Linked DNA regions of Homo sapiens: all the other regions are linked to region 1. Evidence: promoter capture Hi-C in 16 types of primary human blood cells and fetal thymus (Javierre and others, 2016). All regions are on one chromosome and are shown on one strand. Each heading gives the region's core, a stretch centred on a gene start or on the middle of the fragment in contact. The rest is flanking DNA. Distances are from core to core; before and after follow the strand shown. Region 1 holds the start of HADH (hydroxyacyl-CoA dehydrogenase). Region 2 has its middle 8.1 kb from the start of SEC24B. Region 3 has its middle 30 kb from the start of SEC24B.

The links. Contacts are between HindIII fragments. The CHiCAGO score rates a contact against its expected background, and 5 or more counts as called.
Region 2: a contact is called between a fragment that was not itself captured here and the fragment with the promoter of HADH in region 1, in 5 of 17 cell types (naive B cells, naive CD8 T cells, activated CD4 T cells and 2 more). The highest score is 7.4, in naive B cells.
Region 3: a contact is called between a fragment that was not itself captured here and the fragment with the promoter of HADH in region 1, in 3 of 17 cell types (naive CD8 T cells, total CD8 T cells and non-activated CD4 T cells). The highest score is 6.8, in naive CD8 T cells.

What each region holds. Positions count from the first base shown.
Region 1 is chr4:107,987,842-107,991,678 of GRCh38, reverse strand. It overlaps HADH (hydroxyacyl-CoA dehydrogenase), which reads right to left and starts at 1,790. Exons shown (of 8, transcript NM_005327.7): 1 at 1,615-1,790. The coding sequence starts at 1,746. RefSeq lists a silencer at 1,794-2,023. The HindIII fragment of the contact is 11,946 bases long and covers 1-3,837 here.
Region 2 is chr4:109,423,806-109,427,642 of GRCh38, reverse strand. No RefSeq gene overlaps it. Among named protein-coding and RNA genes, the nearest start is that of SEC24B, 8.1 kb to the left of the region's middle. The HindIII fragment of the contact is 169 bases long and covers 1,671-1,839 here.
Region 3 is chr4:109,401,568-109,405,404 of GRCh38, reverse strand. No RefSeq gene overlaps it. Among named protein-coding and RNA genes, the nearest start is that of SEC24B, 30 kb to the left of the region's middle. The HindIII fragment of the contact is 3,341 bases long and covers 139-3,479 here.

The sequences.
Region 1 (3,837 bases), core at 541-3,040:
TTTTAGGTTAAAGGGAGTTACTCCTCCCAGTCCACATACAACATAGATTATGGGGATACTATAACCTAGCAGCCAGGGGATCCACACAATAAAAAGGGCAATGTATGTCCAAAATTATGGTCTCAGAGGAAATGGGAGACTGTAAGAAGTCATATAAATAAAACATTACAGGGATATAGCTTTTAGAAGAAAATGCAATCAAATAAAAACGTTGTAAAAAACTTGCCAAGGAGAAGAAAATTGAGATATATAATACCTAATAGTAAAAGGTTTTTTTGTTTTTGTTTTTAAAAAGCAAGCATGAAAGCGTGGACTTGGTTGGAAACAAGACATTGAAAAAGTAAACTCTCTCATGACTGTAGCCACAGTAGTACTGTCCCCAAGAAAAATTAGATGACTATAACCGCCTTCCCCAACAAACCAAGTTGCAAAGGACTGAAATGCTAAGAATATAATCAGCTAGGATACGAAAACCATGGTTCTCCAATGTGAGCTGAAATGGAATAATTTTTAAAAAAAAAAAGTACAAGCATTACAGTAGCCAGGTAATCAATCACTCGCACAACTGAGCCTGAACCACAGCTCAGCAGAACAATGGAAAAGCCCTGAAGATGTACAATGGATAAAAGACTTGTTCCGGCTGGGTGCAGTGGCTAACGCCTGTAATCCCAGCACTTCGGGAGGCCAGGCGGGCGGATCACCTTTGGTCAGGAGTTCGAGATCAGCCTGACCCACAAGGTGAAACCCTGTCTCTACTAAAAATATAAAATTAGCCGGGCGGGGCGCCTGTAATCCCAGCTACTCGGGAGGCTGAGGCAGGAGAATCGCTTGAACCCGGGAGGCGGAGGTTGCAGTGAACCGAGATCGCGCCATTGCACTCCACTCCAGCCTGGGTCAAAGAGACTCCGACTCAAAAAAAAAAAAAAAAAAAAAAAGAGAGAGACTTATTCCGCTGCAGCGCCAAAATCGCAAGCTCAGAACTCTGCACAGACGGCACTATTTCAAAGGTCAAAACCAGGACCTCAGCAATCTTCCATTAGGTGACTTTACAAAGTGCTACAAAAGTCATGACTACTACTATTCTTTACAACCTAGCAAGCGAAGGAAAGACCGGGGAGAGCCGGGAGGCCGTTTAGGAGAGAAAACTACTTTGACAAAGACTGCACAATTACAGAATAAAAATCAAAAATAACTGATAGAATTAAAACTGATCGCAGTTCATGTCTTTGGCAGCAAACTCCCGTTTGAGCCGAGCAGGAACAAACGCGTTATGCCTGAACCTTGTGCACATACAATTCTTTCTTCTCTTGCACGGCCCGCTTCCAAAATGCATTCACCGCCACTCTCCATGGAACCTTCAGCGGGCCCTGGGGGCAGCCAGAATTTTCCAAACGAGGAAGCTGAGGATCGGCCCAGAACCCTGAATTTTGAGGGGAGTGAGACTTGGGCCCTCACAGGCCCAGACGCGAGATATTTCAACTACACCCGGGAGGCGCGGGGTGAAAACTCCCTGGTGTCGGGCGGGTGCAGGCCCCTCGCGGCCGGTCGCGCCAGAGCTTCCACCTCAGGGTGGGCGGCCAAGCGCGTGGGCACGCTGCAGGGAGGGCCGCTCACCTGGGCAATGCCGGCGCCCATCAGCCCGCCGCCGATGACCGTCACGTGCTTGACGATTATCTTCTTGGCCGAGGCCGAGGCGGTGGACGAGGAGGACACGGAACGCATGAACTGCCTGGTGACGAAGGCCATGGTGTGGCAGCGGCGGCGACAGCGAGGAGACCCGGGCAGGGAAGACGCGCGAGGCGGGCAGCCGCGGAAAGCCAGACTCTGGGGGCGGGGACCTACGCGGCCCTGCAGCCCGCGCGCCCCCGGCGTCCCCGTGACGCCACAAGGCGGGGGCGGGGCCTCGAGTCCCGCTCTGCCCATTGGCCCTGGCTGTAACGTCCCAGCGTTGAGCGGGTATACACGCGCGGGCTCGCAGCTGTCAGCAGCCGGAGCCCGAGTGAGCGCGGGCTTGAGACCTGCTGAGCAGCGGGACCTGGCGGCTGGCGTTCTGGTGTGGGGCCGAGAACAGACCCTTCTTCTGAAAAGCCACTGGCCCCTTGTTCTATGAAGTGAGTGGTGTTGACTCTGTAAAATGCTATCCTTTGATGACATGTGCATATCTAGGCTCTGAAGAAATATGTGCTGCTTGGCTGTGTTGGTAATGGACCCAAAATGTGCACCGTTGGTTGATGTCACCAAATAATCAACTCGGGATTATTTTAATCCCGTGGACAGTGATTGTTTCCCCTAAAAGGGAAATAAATGTAGACTGCGAACACCCAAAACAAATGTCTAGTGACCATGAGTTACAATGCAAAAATCAGGCTCAGGGAAGGTAAAGAGAGAGTTGACCTTTAGTTACCCATCTTGACGTTGGACGTCTATCAGTGCAGTGAACATGTGGACGGTTTAAGGTCATAGAGCAACCTTTCTGGAATAACGAATACTATTAGAAAGCATAGGAAAGAAATGTCTTGTCAAATAATGGAAGACTGGATAGCAGCTTGGCCAATCTTCTCACTCAGGTGAATACTTTCTAATTACTGTAACTTAGTGATATAGGATTCTTATTAATTTATTTGCTTTATGTTTAAATATTGTTAACAAAAAAACTTCAAACAAGTTTAGCAGAGTTTATCTGAGCAAAGAAAGCATGAATCATGTAGTATCCTGAGCCAGTAAAGGTTCAGAGAGCTCCAGCCCCTAACAGTGGGCAAGCCGCGTTTATAGACAATATTTTTTGCAGCCTGTAATGGGCTAAAAGCTCCGCTGCGGTGATTGGCCAAGACTTGGCCACTTGTTAGAAGAACGTACTCTCAAATTACATTGCAGTTTATTTACATATTAGGTTTGATTATGCTTTGCTAGGTAGGGAGGCAACTTTAGGCCAGATTTAATTTAATAACAGTTTCCTCCTTTGGGTCAGCCTCTCAGTTTTACGAGATTGACCAGAACCTTGTTTTGTCTCAGTATGGAAGTCACAATGTCAAATTAGTTGAGTGATTATACTTTCTTCATGTTGTTATTCTAACTGTAATAACACCATTTGGTGTACAAAGGATGGCTGCATAGAGACATTGAAGACTCTCGAGGGGACAACAACACATCAGGGAGACTATTATGGCCACGAGAAGGAGTATAGCAATAAACTGAGGTACACACCTTAACAGGAGTCTCCACAAACTGAACTGATCAAAATTAAACAATTCAAAGTTCAGGCAATAAAGATAGTTCAAAGTATTTGAGTCCAATTGGTCATGGTCTAATTTAGGGCATTATGGCGGTTAAGGACTGCTAGAAATGCTTATTTCTTGGTGCCGTAAAGAAATAGCACTTGAACATAAAATTAATTTCTTTAGCAAGGCCATTTTTACTTTCTGCGGAAAGAGTACACTCGCCAGCAGTTTTGCCACAAGAGTACACCGAACAAAGGAGGCAGGGTCATTTATAACCTGACCCGTCCACCTTACTGTTGTGACTGGTTTCCATTGGCTAGAACGGGACTTCACATTCTGTATTTGTCTTGATTGGCTAGCAACTTAGAAATTCTTAAAAGAGGCAAAGGCAGAGGAGAACAAAGGAAGGAGGAAGTAACTTGTGGAATGCTGAGAAGGGAAAAACACCTCTAAATAAGGAAGAGGAACAGGCTATGACCTAATGCCCACTTGGACCAGTATAAGCATGCCAGGGCAAATATTTAGGCTAAATTGTGGGAGCTAAGAACATAAAGTACATTGATTTCTTTATTACAGCTAGCAGATATTTAAGAATGTTAACAGGTCTTTGAATAAATTT
Region 2 (3,837 bases), core at 506-3,005, 1.4 Mb before region 1:
ATTCATTTGAGACAGGGTCTCACTCTGTTGCCCAGGCTAGAATGCAGTGGTGCAATTACAGCTCACTGCAGCCTTGACCTCCTAGGCTCAAGTGACCCTCCTGCATTAGCCTCCCAAGCAGCTGGGATTACAGGAGTGCACCACCACACCGGGCTAATTTTTTAAAATTTTTAGTAGAGGTGAAGTCTTGCTGTGTTGCCCAGGTTGGTCTCTCAAGTAATCCTCCAGCCTTGGCCTCCCAAAGTGCTGGGATTACAGGTGTGAGCCACCATGCCCAGCCTAGATTTATTTTTATGTATAAAACTAAGTTAAAAGATCATACGAAGGGGTATTTCTGTGTTACAAAGGATTGGTTTTAAAACTTTTTTTACTAGTTGAAAGGATAAACTTCAATTACCTGAAAAATGTAAAACACAACTGTTTCTTTAAAAGAGAAAAAGCTAGACAAAAAATGTTGTTGGGGCAGACACAGTGGCTCACACCTGTAATCCCAACAGTTTTGGAGGCCAAGGTGGGAGGATCACTTAAGCCCAGGAATTTGAGACCAACCTGGGCAACAGAGTGAGACCTTGTCTGTACAAAAAGTTAAAAAATTAGCCAGGTGTGGTGGCGTGTGCCTGTGGTCCTAGCTACTCAGGAGGCTGAGGCAGGAGGACCACTTGGGCCTAGGAGGTCAAGCCTGCAGTGAGCCATAATTGTGCCACTTACACACTCCAGCCTGGGCAGCAGAGTGAGACTCTGTCTCAAAAATAAATAAATAAATAAATAAAATTGTTGAACATACTAATTCAGTTAGAAAGGACACACTTTTAAAAAAGAATATTGATAAGTCAGAGCACCACTATGATGGCAGGGTGTTTACAAAGCTTGTGGTACACCATATACAAAAATCAACTCAAAATGGACTAAAGACTTAAAAACCTGAAACTATAAAACTAATAGGAGAAAACATAGGGAGAGATCGTGCCACTGCACTCTAGCACAGCGACAGAGTGAGAGTCTGTCTCAAAAAAATGAAAAAATTAAAAGATTTTTCCGTATAACAACTTTCTTCTTCACTAACGAAAAGTAGAAATCTAGTATAGTCCTGTAGACAGTTTCTATGTAATAGATTAAAACAAGTTAAAACAGGAATTTCTCCCATAAGATTCTCTCCTTCTAAATACAACAGAGTAGAAGGGGCAGGTGTGGTGGCTCATGCCTATAATCCCAGGACTTTGGGAGGCCAAAGCAGGAGGATCGTTTGAGACGGGAGTTTGAGATCAGCCTGGGTGCATAGAGATACCCTATCTCTACAAAATAATTAGAAATTAGCCCGGCATGGTGACACAGCCTTGTAGTCCTAGCTGCTCAGGAAGCTGAGGTGGGAGGATTGCTTGAGCCCAGGTGGTTGAGGCTGCAATGAGTCAGATATATATATCTGGCTTTATATATACACCTTTGTTTTATATGTATATTATATACTTTATTATATATACATAAAACAAAGTAGAGAATGTTAGTCCCCGGAATTTCTCTGTAAGAAAATGTCTCATGCAAAAATCATTCAGGAGGAGAAAAATATACTTTGTAGGGGATGCTACATGCTTCTTGCCAAGAAGAGAGAGAGAAATGGGAGGCCATTAGCTGTCTTCTATGTATGGTTGGTGGGCAGGGGTACAAGAGAAGCTTCTCACTTTTACACCATGTGGGAAGAAGGTAGTGAACAGGGTAGAAAGAAAACTGTGAGATAACAACATGGAAGGATTGGGAGATTGAAAGAGGAGGAGAATTTTAGCAGCCGTCATAAGTAGGGAACTTTGGAGGGAGGAGAGATATAGAGAAGTATTGTTGGAAGCTTTACTTTCTATTTTTCTGGGAGAGACCCCTGTGTTACACCTTTACGGAAACTCATAATAAAAATCTCGATCGTTTATCAACATTAGTCTCATTATTTTTGAACGAGAATCCCCACAGAAATGATATCACATGACACTTGAGTTGTAAATTGTACAAACTGCATTCAGAAGCCATCACCAAGGCCTAGCTGTTCTTTTTCCTGAATCTAGACCATTTATGTCATATGAGTATCTACTTTCCAAAACTGAAAGCTCCTCACTTGGTCTTCCACAGAACTCCAGTGGAGCTCTAAATTGTATAGCTGAAAATGGGGCATATAATTCATACACTTTCACCATAATTCAGGGCAGGGAGGGAATGTCACTGGTTATGGTATCTGTTAGTTTTCCCTGTTAACTGACATTTGGAAAATATGTGCTCTGAGACACTCACACTTTGGGTTTAGATAACGTTTCTTCTCTCGGTGTCTGTGTTTCATGTTGTTGTTGTAATTGGCCAATAGCGCTGTAGTTGCTGCCAATATATAAGTTTGTTGCAGATACAAAATATGGACATTTTGATAGTTAATGTGCACACACACATAATACACAATAGGCATAGTCATAATTTTGTTACATGATCATTTGGCACAAATGATGAAACTGTGCACAAGTTACTATAATTAATGCCCTATACTTTCTTTTTCTTTCTTCTTTTTTTTTTTTTGAAACAGAGCTTTGCTTTTGTAGCCCAGGCTGGAGTGCAATGGCTCAATCTCAGCTCACTGCAACCTCCGTCTCCTAGGTTCAAGTGATTCTCCTGCCTCAGCCTCCGAAGTAGCTGGGATTACAAGCATGCACCATGCCCCGCTAATTTTGTATTTTTAGTAGTGTAGGGTCCAGCCCTACAGGGCCTGTGGGTTTTTCCTTAGTGTGCAGAGATGAGAGATTGTAGAAAAATAGACATGAGACAAAGAAATAGAAGGAAACACAGCTGGGCCCAGGGGACCACTACCACCAATGCGCGAAGCCTGGTAGTGACCCTGAATGCCTGGACACACTGCTATTTATTGTATGCAAGGCAAGGGGGCAGGGTAAGGAGTTTGAGTCATCTCAAATGATTAATAAGGTCAAGCAAGTCACGTGTCCACGTGACGGGGGGCCTTTCCCTTTGTGATAGCTGAAGCAGAGAGGGAGGACAGTATATGTCAGCATTTCTTCTGTGCACTTATCAGGAAGATCAAAGACTTTAGTACTTTCACTAATTTTGTTACTGCTATCTTTTAAGAACTTAAAAGGAGGTGCCAGGTGTACAGGCAGAACATGAAAGTGGACAAGGAGCATGACCACTGAAGCACAGCACCACAGATGTTTAAGCCTCCAGATGACTGCGGGCAGGCCTGGCTAATGTCAGGACTCCCACAAGAGTTGGTGGAGCAGTGTTCTCTAACTCCCCCCGGGGAAAGGGAGACTCGCTTTCCCGGTCTGCTAAGTAACGGGTGCCTTCCCAGGCACTGGCGCTACCGCTAGACCAAGGTCTGCCGAGTAACGGGTGCCTTCCCAGGCACTGGCCCTACCGCTAGACCAAGGTCTGCCAAGTAATGGGTGCTTTCCCAGGCACTGACCTTACCGCTAGACCAAGGAACCCTCAAGCGGCCCTTATCCGGGCGTGACAGAGGGCTCACACTCTTGTCCTTTGGTTACTTCTCACCATGTCCCTTCAGCTCCTGACTCTGTATGGCCTGGTGTTTTCTAGGTTATGATTATAAAACAGAGATTATTATAATACTAAAAGAGCAACACTACCAACTAAAGATTGATAATATTCATATATAATCATGTCTATATCTTATTTTTAGTATAACTTTTTGTATTCTAATTATTTTCTTTTATTATACTGGAACAGCTTGTGCCTTCAGTCTCTTGCCTCAGCACCTGGGTGGCTTTCCGCCCACAAGTAGAGATGGGGTTTCTGCATGTTGGTCAGGCTGGTCTCGAACTCCCGACCTCAGGTGATCCA
Region 3 (3,837 bases), core at 560-3,059, 1.4 Mb before region 1:
GATGTTATATGTTTAGTCTTTGCTATTTTTACTCTCTGGTTTTCAGTTAAATTGTGACTTACAATTATTTGGTTATGGTGACCCATTAATTCACCAAACAGAAGCCCTATTTGAGTCAAAGAATCCTGTTTCCAAGCTTAAAAGAAAATGAATCTGTATGTTCTTATACTTTCCCTGTAATATGTTCTGTCATTTTACTAATGCTGAAAGTCTATCCAATAGACCTGGACTCATCACAAATAAAAATTTAGAGTTTCACAGAAATGGGTAAAGAGCAATTAGTATTTTCATTAAGAACTAACAAATATAAAGATCAAATTAGGGTTTTTTTTTCTTGGCCCTTGTTTATAATATGCACTAAAAATTACTATTGTACTTAGGAAGTATTTTTAATATTGAAGTTGACCTAAATTGTACTGAAATACTTGAACCTTCTGGTTGGGTCATATGGTATGGACTGTGTGCCACATAAAAATGCCTTTTATGTATTAATTGTGCCTATATTTCTTTAGCATCTGCCTCTCTCATTGGACTATAGACACCACAAAGACTGTTTTATGTCAACAGTGTCTATATAAATAGGTGCTTAAAATTTTTTGTAGAATCAACTGGCAAATGAATAAATGATGATAAACATTGCTGAATTAAATAAATGAAATATAAGCCAGGGCTAAATTCAACCTTAGTAAACAAATTTGTGAACTGTGAGCCATCCAGACTATTCCTAAGACTGAGTGTAGAAGTCCACTGGTAGGAGACTTCTACCAGTTTACATTTAAGATCTTAAGGAACTTACCATCTTGGTTGTTTCCTAAACTTTCTAGATCCTTAACTTCTACTGCAGAATACAGTTTTTAGCTTTCTTGCTTTCTTTTCTTTCTTTCTTTCTTTCTCTTTCTTTCTTTCTTTCTTTCTTTCTTTCTTTCTTTCTTTCTTTCTTTCTTTCCTTCTTTCTTCTTTCTTTCTTTCCTTCCTTCCTTCCTTCTTTCCTTCCTTCCTTCTTTCCCTCCTTCCTTCTCTCTCTTTCTTCCTTCTCTTTCTTTCTTTCTTTCTTTCTTTCTTTCTTTCTTTCTTTCTTTCTTTCTTTCTTTCTTTCCTCTCTCTCTCTCTCTTTCTCTCCTTCCTTCCTTCTTTCTTTTTTTTTTTCTGGAGTCTCACTCTGTCACCCAGGCTGGAGTGCAGTGGTGAGATCTTGGCTCATTGCAATCTCCGTCTCCCGGGTTCAAGCAATTCTCCTGCCTCAGCCTCCTGGGTAGCTGGGATTACAGGCGTGTGCCACAATGCCTGGCTAATTTTTGTATTTTTAGTAGAGATGGAGTTTTGCCATGTTGGCCAGGCTGGTCTCAAACTCCTGACCTCAAGTGATTCGCCCGTCTCGGCCTCCCAGAGTGTTGGGATTACAGGTGTGAGCCACCGCGCCTGGCCAACACCTTGTTTCCTGACTCTGCTGTTTCATGACAATAAACCCAACATTCAGATAACCAATAGCTGCATAATACTTTCCAATTTCATCTATGATCTCTAGTCTCACTAGATATGCCAGGTCCATGTCAATAAGCATTATTGTCACCCAGGCTGTAGCGCAGTGGCATGATCACAGCTCACTGCAGCCTTGACTGCTGGGGCTCAAGCGATCCTCTGCCTCAGCCTCTTGAGGAGCTAGGACCACAGCACATGCCACCACACCCAGCTAGTTTTTTTAAAAAAAATATTTGTAGAGACAAGGTTTTGCTGTGTTGCTCAGGCTGTTGTCGAACTCCTGGCCTCAAGTGATCCTCCTGCCTTGGCCTCCCAAAGTGCTGGGATTACAGGCGTGAACCACGGGGCCCAACCTTGTGTTTGGTTCTGTGCTAGTATTCTACATACACCATGATGTTTTATTCCTTTATGCCTTTATTAATTGTGATTTCACCACCTTGAATACTTTTTCCTTCCTTCTTTACTTGTGTAACTGCTATACATTCTTTAAGGCTTATCTCGGGCATTACTAGCTCCATAAATCCTTTCTTGAGGCACAAAGCTGGAGTCCCATAAGCTGCTAAACATAGCTCTATTGGAGAACTTAGTATATTTTGTTTTGGTACACATAAACATTACCTGTTTATACATCCATGTTTTCCATTAGATATGAGTTCCTCAAAGTAAAGCAATCAGAAGCACATTAAAGAGAAATACCTCCTATTTCCATTATCAAATATACAAACCTACTTGTTTCAGTATCCAAATACTCTGTCTTACTTCCAAGAGAAATGGATGGACAGCCATTGATTCAGCTAAGGCCGATTCATCTGTTTGGGCACTTCCCTTGCACTTGATTTACAGTTTGTCTAGGTATAGAATTCTACTTTGGAAATAGTTTTCTTTCAGGAGTTTGAAGCCATTGCTTCATTGTCTTCTTGCTTCCGGTGTTGCTAAGAAATCTAAATCATTCCTATCATTCCTTCTTTGTTTATAAAAAGAACTCTGTATTATAGAAAATTTAAAATATGTTCAAAGAGAATTATATGATGAATATATAATATAATGAATTCCCATGTACCCATCACTCCACAATTGTCAATGTATAGCCAGTTGCATTGCCTCTACAGCACATCCCCCACTTCTGACCTTTTAATTATTTTATTTTATTTGTTTATTTACTTCCTTTTTTGAGGCAGGGTCTGGCTCTGTCACTCAGGCTGGAGTGTAGTGGTGCGATCATGGTTCACTGCAGCTTTGAACTCCTGGCCTCAAGGAATCCTCCCACCTCAGACTCCTGAGTAGTTGGGATTATAGGTGTGCACCACCACGCCTGGCTAATTTTCTGTAGAGATGGGGTTTTGCCATGTGGCCCAGGCTGGTCTCAAACTCCTGGGCTAAAGCAGTCTGCCCACCTCGGCCTCTCAAAGTGTTGGGATTACAGGTGTGAGCCACCACACATGGCCAACTTTCAATTATTTTAAATCAAAATCCAGAATTACTCTGTTTTATTGTAAATATTCAGTATTTTTCTCTAAAAGAGATAAAGGATCATATTTCCAATCCTTTGCATGTAATTAGTTTTATTCTCTCTGAGAGTTTAGGAAATTATTTTTCTTCTTAGAGTTCTGAAATTTTATGATATGTCCATTGTGCCTGTTTTTCTGTGGGCCTTTTCTATCTGTAATCTCATGTTCTTTGCTTCCAAGAAATGTTCTTGAATTGTTTCATTGATGATTTCTTTGCCCCATTACTCAGATGTTGGACCTCTTAGAATGGTACTCTAACTTTCTTTCCTTTCTGTTTTTCATCACTTTGATTTTTGGTTCCACTTTTCTGACAGATTTTCTCAACTTTCTCTTCCTACCCACCTATCACAGTTTCCATTTCTGCTATTATATTTTAATGTCTTAGAGTACTTTTCTAATTTTCTGCATGTTTCTTTTTTGTGGTATCTTGTTTTTGTTTCACGGATGCAATATATTCTCTCTTTTCCTTTTTGATAACATATTTTTGAAGCTTCTCTGTCCTCCAAAGTTGCCTTCTTTTCTTTGCTTATTTTGGGTTCCATCTTCTTGATAGAGGCTTTCTTCATCGAGTGTCTAATTCCTTTGCTCTCTGCTCATGATCAGTAAAGTGTGAGACTAAAAAACTGATGGGCACACTGAGCCTGTGGGAAAGACTTAACTTTGATCTTCACTGAAGTGGAATCTGGGTGGGCCATTTGTAGAGGAACCTCTGCAGTTAGTATCTAGGTCTTGCTCTTAAGCAGGTCAGATTCTGCAGAAAAGAGTTTTTCTCTTTCCTTTCTGGAGGATAAAGCTCTGGCTGCCAGCATTCTGGGAGTCGGATTGGGGAAGAAGACTAGGGTTGTCTGCA